3 separate regions of the Homo sapiens genome follow, and regions 2 and 3 are each linked to region 1. The links are contacts of gene promoters, found by promoter capture Hi-C in blood cells and fetal thymus (Javierre and others, 2016). All regions are on one chromosome and are shown on one strand. Each heading gives the region's core, a stretch centred on a gene start or on the middle of the fragment in contact. The rest is flanking DNA. Distances are from core to core; before and after follow the strand shown.

Region 1 (4,218 bases), core at 1,719-4,218:
TATGAAATGGCCAGAATAGGCAAATCTGTACAGAAAGAAAGCAGATTAATTTTGCCAGGGACTTGGGGGGAAGACAGATTGGGAGTAACTGCTAAAGACTATAGGGTTTCTTTTCTTTTCTTTTTTTTTTTTTTTTTGAGATGGAGACTCGCTCTGTAGCCAGGCTGGAGTGCAATGGTGTGATCTCGGCTCACTGTAACCTCTGCTTCTCGGGTTCAAGTGATTCTCCTGCCTCAGCCTCCTGAGTAGCTGGGATTACAGGTGCGCGCCACCACGCCCAGCTAATTTTTGCATTTTTAGTAGAGACAGGGTCTCACCATGTTGGACAGGCTGGTCTCGAACTCCTGACCTCAGGTGATCCGCCACCCTTGGCCTCCCAAAGTGCTGGAATTACAGGCGTGAACTACCATGTCTGGCCTAGGGTTTCTTTTTAGGGTGATAAAAATGTTCTGAAGGCCAGGTGCGGTGGCTCACACCTGTAATCCCAGCACTTTGGGAGGCCGAGGCGGGCAGATCACGAGCTCAAGAGATCGAGACCATCCTGGCCAACATGGTGAAACTCCATCTCTAAAAATACAAAAATTAGCTGGGCATGGTGGTGCACGCTTGTAGTCCTAGCTACTCGGGAGGCTGAGGCAGGAGAATCACTTGAACCTGTGAGGCGGAGGTTGCAGTGAGCCGAGATCACACCACTGCACTCCAGCCTGGTGACAGGGCAAGACTCCATCAAAAAAAAAAAAAAAAATACCCACTGAATTTTTTACTTTAAAAGGGTGAATTTTATGGTAGGTGAATTACATCTCACTAAAATTATCACTTTGGCCGGGCGCAGTGGCTCACGCCTGTAATCCCGCTCTCAGGGAGGCAAGAGGCGGGAGGATAGCTTGAGCCCAGGAGTTCGAGACCTGCCTGGGCAATATGGCGAGACCCCGTTCTCCAGAAAAAGGAAAAAAAAAAAAAGACAAAAAAAAGCGTAAAATTATCACTTTAAAGTGTTTTCTTTTCTTTTTTTTTTTTTTTTTTTTTGAGACGGAGTTTAGCTCTTGTTGTCCAGGTTGGAGTGCAGTGGTGAAATCTCGGCTCACCACAATCTCTGCCTCCCGGTTCAAGCAATTCTCCCGCCTCAGCCTCCCTAGTAGCTGGGATTACAGGCATGTGCCACCACACCCAGCTAATTTTGTATTTTTAGTAGAGATGGGGTTTCTCCATATTGGTCAGGCTGGTCTCGAACTCCCGATCTCAGGTGATCTGCCCGCCTTGGCCTCCCAAAGTGCTGGGATTACAGGCATGAGCCACAGCGCCCGGCCATTTAAAATGTTTTCATAAGCACTTTTACTTTTGCTCAAATTGCATCTTGATATAAACTTCAAGTTTTTTAAAATAAAGATAATATAAATTATTCTCATTATATTATACTCTCTAGAAAATGTAAGTAGTAAATTTGAATTTGATGAGCCAGTCCACTATTTCCTAAACAATGTATTATCTGTGGGCTGTTCATTCACCAGGGACACTTGAAATGGCAAAATCTTTTCCTCTCTGCCAATGGTTCTGTGCACCATAGCCACAAAGAAATGTAAAAGTTACTTGTTGGCTTATTAGTCTCAATAAGTTTTAGTTGATTGAACAAACAAAGTCTCTCACAGCCAGGACTGCTGCGGCTGGAATTCCTGACATACTGTCATACCTCTCACTCGTCAATCTACACTCTCCTCCCATCTACACAGCTCTGGAAATTAAAAACAATCCAACCATGACTATCATGGCTTCAGAGGTCTATGAACTCCCAGGAATTATACGCAGATTTTTTCCTGAGGACAGTCTACACTTCCTTATTGGCTTCTCAAAGAGGGTCACTGACCAGCTTTTAGAGACATGGGCCAAGTCCGGCTACGTTTAGATTCGGTAGTAGTGTCTGTGGTTTTAGTTTGCCACGTCCTTTCCTCTTTTTTTCGTCATAGTGCCCGCTCTTTGGGAGGTAGGGGAGAGTCTTCCCCTGAAGTCTCCACTGCTGCTGGAGAACCTTCCTTTTTCATCTGGTTGCTAAATCCAGAGAATGAAATCTAGGAGATGATTGCACCGTCCCCGCCCCTCAACATGAAGGATGCCCCACTGCCCATCGGGGAGGGGAGCAGGGAGAGCTGGAGAGAGGCTGGGTCGGGGCAGGACCCAGGCGCAGATCCTCCGAGGCCAGCTGCAGCCCTACCTACCTGCCTTCCCGTCTTTCCCCTCCCTTCTTTTCTCCTTCTGTCTTTCCTTCCTTCCATATCTCTTTCCTTGCCTCTTTCCCCCTCCCACTGCTTCCTTTCTTCCTTCCACTGTGGAGGTGGAAAATTTAGCTAGGAGAAGCTGGGACTGGGACGTTCCAGGAACCAGACAGAGAGTGAGTTAAAGGCACAGAGATGAAAACGCGGTATGGGAGAGCTGGTTCTTGAGTCGGCTAAGAGGGGATGAACTCAATGGTTAATAGGATTGGCCATGGCGAATCCCTCAGCAGGGCACGCACCGCACAAAGGGCCGAGGAGCGAGGGTAGCTCGAGGTCAGGATTACAGAGACTCAGGAGCAAGAGAGGAAGGCTTAAAGAGCCAGACTGCGCAGCCAGGACTGGGGTGATGGGCGCTGTCCTGCCAGGCCAAAGAATGAAGATGTAGCCCCGCCCCCAACCTAGGGAGGAGGACCAGCCCGGTTCCTGTCCTGCCCCCGCAACCTCGCCCCGATTCCACTCCGGGAACCTCGGCGATGCTGAGCCAAGACCACTTCTGAATCAGGGATGACTTGTCTAGTGAACCTAGGGTCAGAGCCATCAGTTGGAAAGGCTGGGAGGAGCCTGGAGAAAGAGGGCGACCTTCCTTGGGATCTGTGCGCTCCCTCCTTGCCTCCCCCTCCAGCCTCCCACTTGGTAGCACCTTCCTGATCCCCTTATCTCTAAGGCGCTCAGGGAAATGCCCCGCTGCGGGAGCCTTCTGGGAAATGCTGCCCTGGCCACCCAGGAACCATGAGCCCTGCAGCCCCGGTAAGGAAGAGTTCTCTGGGACAGGAGGAAGGGCCCAGGGCAGGGTGGGCACCCTTGCCACATAGGGGACGGGACAGAAGTCTTTTAGGCCCTGACATCCTCTGGTCTCTGAATGACATCCTGTGGCTGCTGGTAGGTGAGGGTTTGCGGGGCTGAGCTATTGAAGGAAATGATCACAGTCCGAGGTGATAGATACAGAAAGTCTTCCTTTCTCCAGGTGGGCTCCCGCCAGTCCATTCTTCACTGTGCCCTAGAGGGGCCTTTCCGACCCCCTAATCACACACCTCACTCCTCATCTTGAAACTCCCACCCCCAGCTCCAGTCACTGCGTCCTAACATCCAAGCTCTCCGCCTGTCATGCAAGGCCTCTGTGCTATTTCTTTCCAAACCCTGCAGCTCTATCGCCTGACACTCCCGATGCCCTCCCCACCCCTGCGCTTTATGTTCTAGACACACGGAAATGCTGGGCACTCTTCAACATCCTGACAGTATTCATAGGGGAAATTTCGGGTCGCCTAGGAAACTGCCCCTCATCCTCCAAGGCCCCTTTCAGCCTCCTCTGGGAAGCCTTCCTGAACCCCTTGAGAAAAGTCAGGCTCATCTTTTCCATTGTTAAATCACACCTTGTGCTCCAATTGTGTGTTTCCATGTAATCTCCCTCACTAGACTGGAAGCTGGGGATGGAAAGGGGAAGCATCAAAAAAACATGCAAAACTAGGAGCTTGGCTTCTCCTTGCAACTTTACTTTTTCTTTTTTTCTAGGAACTGAGTTCAATGATTCTTAAGAAAAAGTATTTCATGATAAATGAGTGAACAAATGTCTTAATAGAAAAGTAAAATTGCAGGCGGGGCTGCTTCTGCCCAGCTCTACAGGGGTAGACTACAAGTCCCAGTACGCCTCGGGTCAGCATCTCTTCACGTCACTCCCCCTCCCTGGGGTGGGCAGGTCCGGAGGGCGGGGCCCGGGGGCAGCTGGGCTCTCAGGCGCTGCGGGAGGAGAGAAATGCCCCAGGCTCTCCGGGGCACACAAAGCGCAGGCGCAGCGGGTTGGGTGGCAGCAGCATCGAGTAGCGGCCGCTTAGGCAGCAACATCCGCAACAAGTGTAGACAAGGTGGGTGCATCAAGGGGAGGGGCTGGAAAAGGAGTCTGCACCTGACCCTCTTGTCTGATCTGTGTCAAGACCGTGGAGAGGGGAGGGAGCGG
Region 2 (4,218 bases), core at 1,117-3,616, 250 kb before region 1:
CCTCTGTACAGGGCCCTAGAGCAGATGTGCGTCCCCCTCCTCTTCCAGCAGGTCTATAAAGGGAAGGGGTAGCAGAAAGTCCTGGGCTAGGAGAGTGAGTCCCTGGGTTCTAATCTTGGGCACATCTGTGGCCATCGCTGGGTCCATTTTTCTGACTGTGAAGTAAGGAGAGACGTCTCAGTACCCAGGGCCTCTTCAGCTCTTTGTAGGTTCTGGGCTGGGTTGTGGGGGACTGGGGAGCTGGGCTCTACCATCCCTCCCATTAGTAGCTTTATCCAGCCCCGTTTTTGCTGCTTCCAGGGCCTCTGCCTTCAAGGCCCCCATGGGGCTGTCCATCCATGGCTCTGCCTACGGAAGGGGCTTAATGCATGTGCCTGCCCCTCCCCCAGCTGTTTTTAATGAAACTGAAAAAATAGACTTGATCCCGGCAGGACTGTGATACAGAGCCCTAGCCTGCCCAGCCAGCCCCAAGATCTCAGGAGCTTTAGGGAGAAGACTTGGTGGGGCTGGAGCACACCTTGGGCCTCAGTGGTTTCTGTGTCCCTGTGGTGCCAGTGCTTCTGGGCAGTGCAGGCGGCTGCCAGGCCCAGCCCTGACTTCCACTCTGGCTCAGCAACCTGGTTATTTATGTGGGGCCGTGCAGGCATGGGCCCACTGCCTGTCCATCCTGTTTCTCTTATTTATTGAAACTCACCATTGCCCTATCCTTGTGTCTCCACCCCCTTCCATGTGTTGAATAATAAAAGGTGGGAAAGTGCTGTCACGAGGAGCTCCTTTTCTCTGTGCCCTTCCCAGCTTATCCGCCTGTTCCACTTGTACCTGTCCAGCCCTGCCCTGTGTTGGGCACCGTGACAGGCTGCCCTCCCCTCACAGTTCCTGCACCTCAGCAGCCAGGGAAGCAGGGCCCAGAGGAGACCCATCAACTCATCTGGTTCTCACCAAAGCCCCTAGCTAGAGGCAGGGCTGTCCCACAGAAATAGTGTGAGCCACATATGTGACTTTAAATTTTCTGACAGTCACATTTCAAAAAGTAAAAAGAAGCAGGTGAACTTAATTTTTTTTTAACCCAGTCTATCCAAAATATTTTCATTTCAATATAAAATCAGTATAAAAAGTGTGAATGAGCTGTTTTTGCTTTTGCTTTGAAATCTGGAGTGTATCTTACACATCTTGATTGGAACTCAAATATTTCAAGGGCTCCATAGCCACGTGGCCAGCAGCTACCACACTGGTCAGCGCAGCACCTGAGGAAATGCACTGTGTGGAGCCCGGGAGGTAATTGGGGGTGAGGAAGATGTGCGGGCCAGGGAATGTGTTCCACAGAGAGGGACAGCATGTGCAAAGGCTGAGCACCAACACATAGTGGTCACCTGGGCCTTATGCCCAGGGAGCCTCCAAAGCATTCAGCTCCTGCTTGGCCAGTGTGGAGAGGAAAGGAGCCACAGGAGCGGGTGCTACACCCGGCAAGACAGAGCGTCTCCATCTAAAATTCCTAGGGCAAGCTTCCAACCCGGCCCAAGGGCCGCATGTGGCCCAGGATATGGCTTTGAATGGGGCCTAACACAAATTCATAAACTTTCTTAAAACATTGAGATGTTTTTGCTTTTTTCTTTTCTTTTTAGTTCTTCAGCTATTGTTAGTGTTAATATGCGGCCCAAGAAAATTCTTCCAATGTGGCCCAGAGAAACCAAAAGATTGGACACCCCTGTGCTAGGGTTTGGTAATGGGAAATGGGTCGGGGGCTTAGGGCCAGCTGGGTGGGGCAACAGGAGCAGTCCTGGGGGCACCTGTGACACAGCCATGGAGGATGTCCCATGCCATCCAGATGTGAAGGCCCAGAGCTCTCAGGAGACAGACCTGGAGACAAGAAGACCTACAGGCACTCAGGTGGGTGTTTAGGCCAGGACTGGGCTGGGAGGAAATGTCCTGGGGACGATGCCTGGGCTGCTCCAGGGCACCACAGAGAAGGCACTGCTAGGGAGGCAGGAAAGAAACCAGGGAGGGCAACGTCCGTGGCAGTGTCCTGGCAGCCAGGGGAGGGGTGGGCGCAGGGTGGGCTGCAAGGCCAGGTGCTGCTGGGGGGTGAGGAGGACTGCTCTGTGCCCTGGTGAGTGGCACAGGAACTTGGTGGGATTCGCCTAAAGGGAGAGGGGAGACCAGGGCCAGGGCCAGGTGGATTGAGGGAGACAGCTCCCTGCCGAAGCCTGGCAGGCCATAGCTGGGTGGGGCCTCAGGCTCTGGGGAGAGACAATTTTCAGTTAATTTAGGGTTTTATTGTTTGTTATGTTGTCTAAAGACGGGAGAGAGGGACACATTTAAACTAACGGCCTCAGAGAGAGGCTGAAGAACAAGAGTGACACCTGATGGAACCTGGGGAGGTGTGGAGAGGACCAGCCTGTGGGAGTCCCCGGCCTGTCTGCAGCAGGCACAGGGCAGCTATGGGGCGGCCATGCTGGGGCTGTCGGGAGGCCTGGCTTCACAGGGGGCAGGGGCCTTTCTCCTGAGCAGAAGCCAAGCTGGGGGCCTCCTCCTACCCTGGGCAGATGTGCTTTGGGATTTGACTCTCCTTGGGTACCTAGGGCACAGGTGTCTCTCTCCAGGGCTTTTCAGGTGGGCAGGAAGGGGAGGGACACCTCTGAAGATCCAGGAGATGTTTCACCTGCACCAGAAGAGGGGAAGGAAACAGAGGCTGGACATCAGGAGGGATGTTCTGGAGCAGAAAAGGATGCCAAAGTGTAGGACAGGGTGTCCATTGTAGGGGACTAGCAGGCATCACCAGTGTACCCAAATAAGTATTTCCTGCGGCTGCCAGAGTGTGTTTGGAGTCCCTATTTGCCAGCTGCTCAGCTGCATCTCAGGGTCTGGCCTCTCCACCTTGACTGGCCCTCAGCCTCCTTCCCCAGGGGAAGGCTGGGCTGTGGGGTCTAGATGCCCTCTCCACAGCCTGCCTGTCTCGCCTGGGCAGAGGTACATACACATGCAAGCCAGGGTGCACCAAGGCTGGGTGCAGGCTTCCAGGCCAGGGCTGAGCGCCCCCTCACAGTAAGCACTGTGCTCTCCTCCAGACTCCCCCTCCCCAATTTCTGCTTGCTGAAAGGTGTGGCCCTGGCCTGTTTCTTCACCTGTCCCTTGGGGTATTGAGGCTAGCTTGCAAGAGTGGGATGAAGAGCTGAGGGCTCAAGTAGGAGTGTGTCTGATGCCCTTGGTCTTCAGGGTCCTTACCCTCACCTGGAAGCTTTTCTGGCTTGTTCCATCTAAATCCCTGAAGCTTTGTCAGCGCTTGAGTTCAAGAGGCCCACGCGGAGGTGGGAGCTGGAGGACAGGGTGGGGTTCTGGGCTGACCACTGAGGGGAAGAGTTCTGAGCTTGACCTCTGTGCTCCACCCCTCTTCCCTATGGGCCAGAATGGTAGGGGCTGGGACCCAAGTCTCCACCTCCCCTCCTGCTCCTGGCCCTCAGCTCTGCCACTGTGACCTGGAGCTGAGCCTCCCTCTGGGAGAAAATCCCTTCCTGCACCGGAGAAACTGACTATGGTGACTCAGCCCCAACAATGCCTGTGGCCAGAGGTGCCCCCTCGGACACTGGGGGTGGGTTTCATATTGGATCAAGGACAGGAAGGGAGGCTGGGTGGAGGCACACGGTGAGATTTGGTGAGAGGCATTAGAGAGTAAGGAGGCCTAAAAGTTTTCATTTCAGCTGCAGTGTGAGCCAAGCTACTTGGCCTCTTTTGGCCTGTTTCCTTTCCAGGTGAGGAGGCTGAGTTCTTGGAGGTATAGCTATGGGGATGTGGAGCATGAACTGTAGGGGCCCGGCCCTGGGAAGGAATGGTGGACAGATAACCCAGTAAGAGAAGCCTGGGCCTGGGCTAGGGCAGTGGCTTCACCCAGAGGGGAGATAAGAGATTCAGATGATGTTTAGGAGGCAAAACTGATAGCACTTGATGGGACTGCTTTGGATGAAGGCGCCAGAGCCTCCCTCAGCTGTCCTTTTTCTGTAACCACAAACCACCAAGTGCCCCTTGGTTTCCCATCTGACAAATCCATCTTTTAAGAAAGCTCAGGGCGCTGGGTTCAGTGGCTCACACTTGTAATCCCAGCACTTTGGGAGGCTGAAGCAGGCAGATCGCTTGAGCCCAAGAGTTCAAGACCAGCTTGGGCAACATGGTGAAAGCCCGCCTCTACAAAAAAATACAAAAATTAGCTGGGAGTGGTGGTGTGCG
Region 3 (4,218 bases), core at 636-3,135, 180 kb before region 1:
TCCATCTCCAGTAATACAGAAGAAAAATAACCTGAAAATCTGCCTACTGCATAATACCTAGAAAAGCTGGTTATGAAGTATAACAAACATTGTATTACGTAGAGTTGAGATTTTAAGAAAGAAAAAGAAATCCCTATTACTCAAAAAATGAAGAGGAAACTAAAAATCAGGAAGTCTATGTAGTAAGCTGATATTGGGATGCTTTGGGGAGATTTTTTAGTCTAGGCACTCAAAGGGCTTGCTTTTTACAGCCACCAGGGGTAGGAGATAGGCTGTGGGCCCTGGAACAGCCAAGAGCTGCAACTCAAATTCCCCTACATAAAGTTGGGACCTTGGAGGAGTCATAGTGTCAGTTAAAAAAAGAAAAAAAAAATCCAAAAGTACAGAGATTCAACAGCCAAGGTTGGGTTAAAAAATAAAAGTCTCCCTACAAATTTGAAACTTTGGCCTGTATGAAGTCTGAATTTATACTACTTATGTGGAGTTTATACTATCTGTGTGGTCCTAGAATCTACAGCAGGGAATTAACTTAAAACAGTTCCAGGCTCATAATATTCCTTGGTGATTAATAGAGACAAAAAAAGATCCTCCTTTCCTCTAGAGGAGTACAAATTATCTTGTTTGATTCTCACAACTGTCCTATGAAATGGATAATATTTTGTCCCATTCCCAGAATTATCTAGTATGAAATAGATAATATTATCCCAGTTCATCACAGAAATTAAGTCTGGGGAGGTTAGGGCAAGTTGTCCAAAGTCACTCAGCTATTCTCTGACAGAGCTGGGATTTGAACCTGGTTGTTGTCCAGTCAGTCAAAACACATTACCGAGTCCTACTATGTGCCAAGCAGAGATAAAGTCTGTTCCCTTTCCAATTTTGGAAATTTGGAAAATTTGACAAAGTCAATTCCCCTTCCAGATTTACAATGTTTAAATCTTGATGCAAATCAATAGATAAATGCAACTGTTCTCTTCCTTCTCTAGTTTAGCAACTTAGTAAGAACGAAGGCAGCCAGGATCAAAGCAAATAGGAAACCAAAGCCCCACAGGGTTCCCTTGGGCTCCGTCTGCCAAAGCAGTTCAGTTCCCTCTGGCAGAGGAACTTAAGTTGCTGGAACACTCTGAACTGGAAAGGGGAAAAGCAACAAGCTCCATGAGCTAGTAGGGTATAGGGTACTGCCCCATGAGTCCTGGTTACTGGAAATTAATTTTGTTAGAATAAATATACAAATACAAATTCAAACAGAAAATATTTACTGTTAATTTAAGTAATAAGGACAATGAAACTGTTGTGATAAACACAAACATGGGAAATAGAAAGTTAGTGATAACAGTTACAGTTATATCAGGCTGAAACTCCAATATATTTCTGAATGTTAATTTGGTTGCATAGCATTGAGAAAATCCTGATTTAAAAACATAAGCAGATATAAATGGTAGCATTTTTTAAAAAAATTAACAGGCATTCTTAGAAGCTTAACACACTGATCATCTAACACGTATTCATGTTTTATAAAAATAGTTCTCAATATTTTAAAATAATCAAATCAAATGTTTGCAGACTCTCTAAAACACTCTCCTGGTATTATTGTAGAACAAAGTTGGGAAACAACCACACAACAGGTTCTCTGAGATCTTTCCGCTGGACCTCAGACATATCTTCTGCATGTTCCCAAACTTTCCCAAGACTTTTGGAGGTATACGTTAGGAGGAGGAGCAAGTTATTTGGTAATATCCTTAACCACCATTTCTCAAAATGAGAGCCATTCTCACACTACTCACCCGTGTAGGCCATGTTCTTAGGGTTGCCATAAGGAGCCCCAGGCTGCACGGGGCTGTAAACAGGGTTCATTGTGGAAGACTGAGGATCCTACAGAGAAAACAAAGAAAACAGCACTGATATTGATTGTTCATTCTTCCTGACATCAGCTTCTCCTCCATAATCTTCAGTTTTCCCTGAAAGGAAAGCATCAGGGTGTAGTGGAAAGAAGACTAAACAAAAAAGCCAATTTGCTTGTAGTTGGCCCTATGTTAAATACTTTCCCCATTTGACAGATGAAGATAGTAAGGAGCAAGGAAGTAATATAACTTGCCTAATGTCAACCTAGGCATTTTGGCTCTCAGCTCAGTGTTAGTCCCACTATCCCACAGACAGCTCTGGCACTAGAGTACTATGTGGCATTGGCCATGTCACTTCCCCTGTCTGGACTTCAATGTCCTGATATAAAATGAATTAGTTTAAGATCTCTGAGGTCCTTTCTAATTCCAATGTTGTTAGTCTAAGAGTTGGAAAAGGATAAGCTTTCTACGGTTCACTAGAGGAGCTTGGTGTCTGGTGACGAGCAAACAGACTGCTGGAAGGAAAAGCAGTGTCTCATCCGCCCCTTACACCTGCAGAGGACAAGATACCAGTTACCAGCAGCTTTAAAAACAGAAAAGGGAATTTGTTGCCACTGATAATTTTAATGCAAACAAGGAAATATGGCTAGGATTTCTCTCCAAATTTATTCAAGGGAAAGAAATAAACTTGGAAATTTGTGTGCAATAAGTATCACCTGCACAAGTGCTCTGTTAATTATCTTAATGAAGCACATTCTCCATTCTGATTAATGGAAAATCTGTCATTAAGCTCTATTAGCCAGCCAATTTGTCCCACCTTGTTTAGGGAGCCTTTCCTTACTATATAGCCTGACACATTTGAAAATGTGTCTCCAAATATATTATTTACACATCATAAAAATCAAACAATTCCTTCCTAACTAGGTTCACAAGATAGATGAGCAATTTTTTAGGTCATTAACTTCTCTTGTATCACTTCAAAATAGGAAACAAGTCAAATGTTGAAGGCAGGCAGTGAACAGCTGGCATGATGACAACTGCTCTGTGATTAGTCTGTCTAGGGTTCAAAAATGAGATGTGGAGAAAAGGTGGGCTAACAAGGAGAGGAAGCTGGGACCATCAGATAAGCAAAACGGAAAATGCCATTGGCCAATTTCAGAGGACAGAATGTCCTAAAACATACGTAATGTGTAGCCCTGGCAAACTACCCCAGGGCAACGAGCTAGATAAAATTACCATCAGCCAACAAACTGAAACTAGAACAACTTGAAGATGAAAGTTAAAGGAGTTATATATATATTTCAGTTAAACTTAAGGGAAAAAAATATTCTCACAGCCAGAGTTATCTAAAAATATACCCAAGTAACATACACTCTCTCTCTAAATAAAAGCACTCTCCTCGCAGAGTATTGAGACATTAATAATGAAAAGAGATCATAGATTTTTTGTTTTTGTTTTTGTTTTTTTTGAGACGGAGTCTCACTCTGTTGCCTAGCCTGGAGAGCAGTGGGGTGATCTTGGCTCACTGCAACCTCTGCCTCCTGGGTTCAAGCGATTCTCCAGCCTCAGCCTCCCGAGTAGCTGGGACTACAGGCACGTGCCACCATGCCTGGCTAATTTTTTGTATTTTTAGTAGACAGGGGTTTCACCGTGTTAGCCAGGATGGTCTCGAACTCCTGACCTCGTGATCCACCCACCTCAGCCTCCCAAAGTGCTGGGATTACAGTCGTGAGCCACCGCGCCTGGCCGATCATAGATGTTAAAATAAGTTGCAAACTGTCAAGTGACATGCAAATGTAAACAATGATGATGTGGCAATGTTGCTCATGTGACAACAACAACACAGAGACTACTTGTACTCCTTCCAGCTTTGGGTCTCTCTTCTACCCAACCAGTTCTCTGCGTGGTACATCAGGATGAGAAAGACTGATAAAGTGCTGCAGTGGTTTGAATGTTTCCCCCCAGAAAGCACGTGCTGGAAGCTTAATAACCATTTTAACAGTAATTAAGATGTGGGACTGTTAAAAGGTGATTAGGCCATGAGGGATCTGCCCTGATGAATGAGTTAATGCCATTATTACAGGAGTGGGTTTTATCATGGTGGGCGTGGGTTCCTCACAAAAGGATGCGTTTGGCCCCCTCTTGCTCTCTGTCACCCTCTTTTGCCCCTCTCTCTTCCACCATGGGATGACACAGCAAGAAGGCCCTTGACAGATGCTTGTACTCTGATATTGGACTTCCCAGCCTCCAAAACTATAAGCCAATACATTTCCATTCATTATAAATTACCCAGTCTGTGGTATTCTGCTATAGCAGCACAAAAAGGACTAAGACAAGTGCTAAGCAGTACAACTTACCTGTAAACATCTGAGCACTCTCC

The links. Contacts are between HindIII fragments. The CHiCAGO score rates a contact against its expected background, and 5 or more counts as called.
Region 2: a contact is called between a fragment that was not itself captured here and the fragment with the promoter of PLEKHB1 in region 1, in 2 of 17 cell types (M0 macrophages and monocytes). The highest score is 7.5, in M0 macrophages.
Region 3: a contact is called between a fragment that was not itself captured here and the fragment with the promoter of PLEKHB1 in region 1, in 1 of 17 cell types (endothelial precursors). The highest score is 5.3, in endothelial precursors.

Annotation. Positions count from the first base shown.
Region 1 is chr11:73,643,613-73,647,830 of GRCh38, forward strand. It overlaps PLEKHB1 (pleckstrin homology domain containing B1), which reads left to right and starts at 2,969. Exons shown (of 8, transcript NM_021200.3): 1 at 2,969-3,014. The coding sequence starts at 2,997. RefSeq lists enhancers at 2,534-3,452, 4,088-4,218 and a silencer at 3,828-4,047. The HindIII fragment of the contact is 13,421 bases long and covers 1-4,218 here.
Region 2 is chr11:73,395,883-73,400,100 of GRCh38, forward strand. It overlaps RELT (RELT TNF receptor), which reads left to right. Exons shown (of 11, transcript NM_152222.2): 11 at 1-1,592. Among named protein-coding and RNA genes, the nearest start is that of RELT, 22 kb to the left of the region's middle. The HindIII fragment of the contact is 1,733 bases long and covers 1,501-3,233 here.
Region 3 is chr11:73,466,624-73,470,841 of GRCh38, forward strand. FAM168A (family with sequence similarity 168 member A) reads right to left here. Exons shown (of 8, transcript NM_015159.3): 2 at 1,782-1,869. The coding sequence starts at 1,851. Among named protein-coding and RNA genes, the nearest start is that of RELT, 92 kb to the left of the region's middle. The HindIII fragment of the contact is 826 bases long and covers 1,473-2,298 here.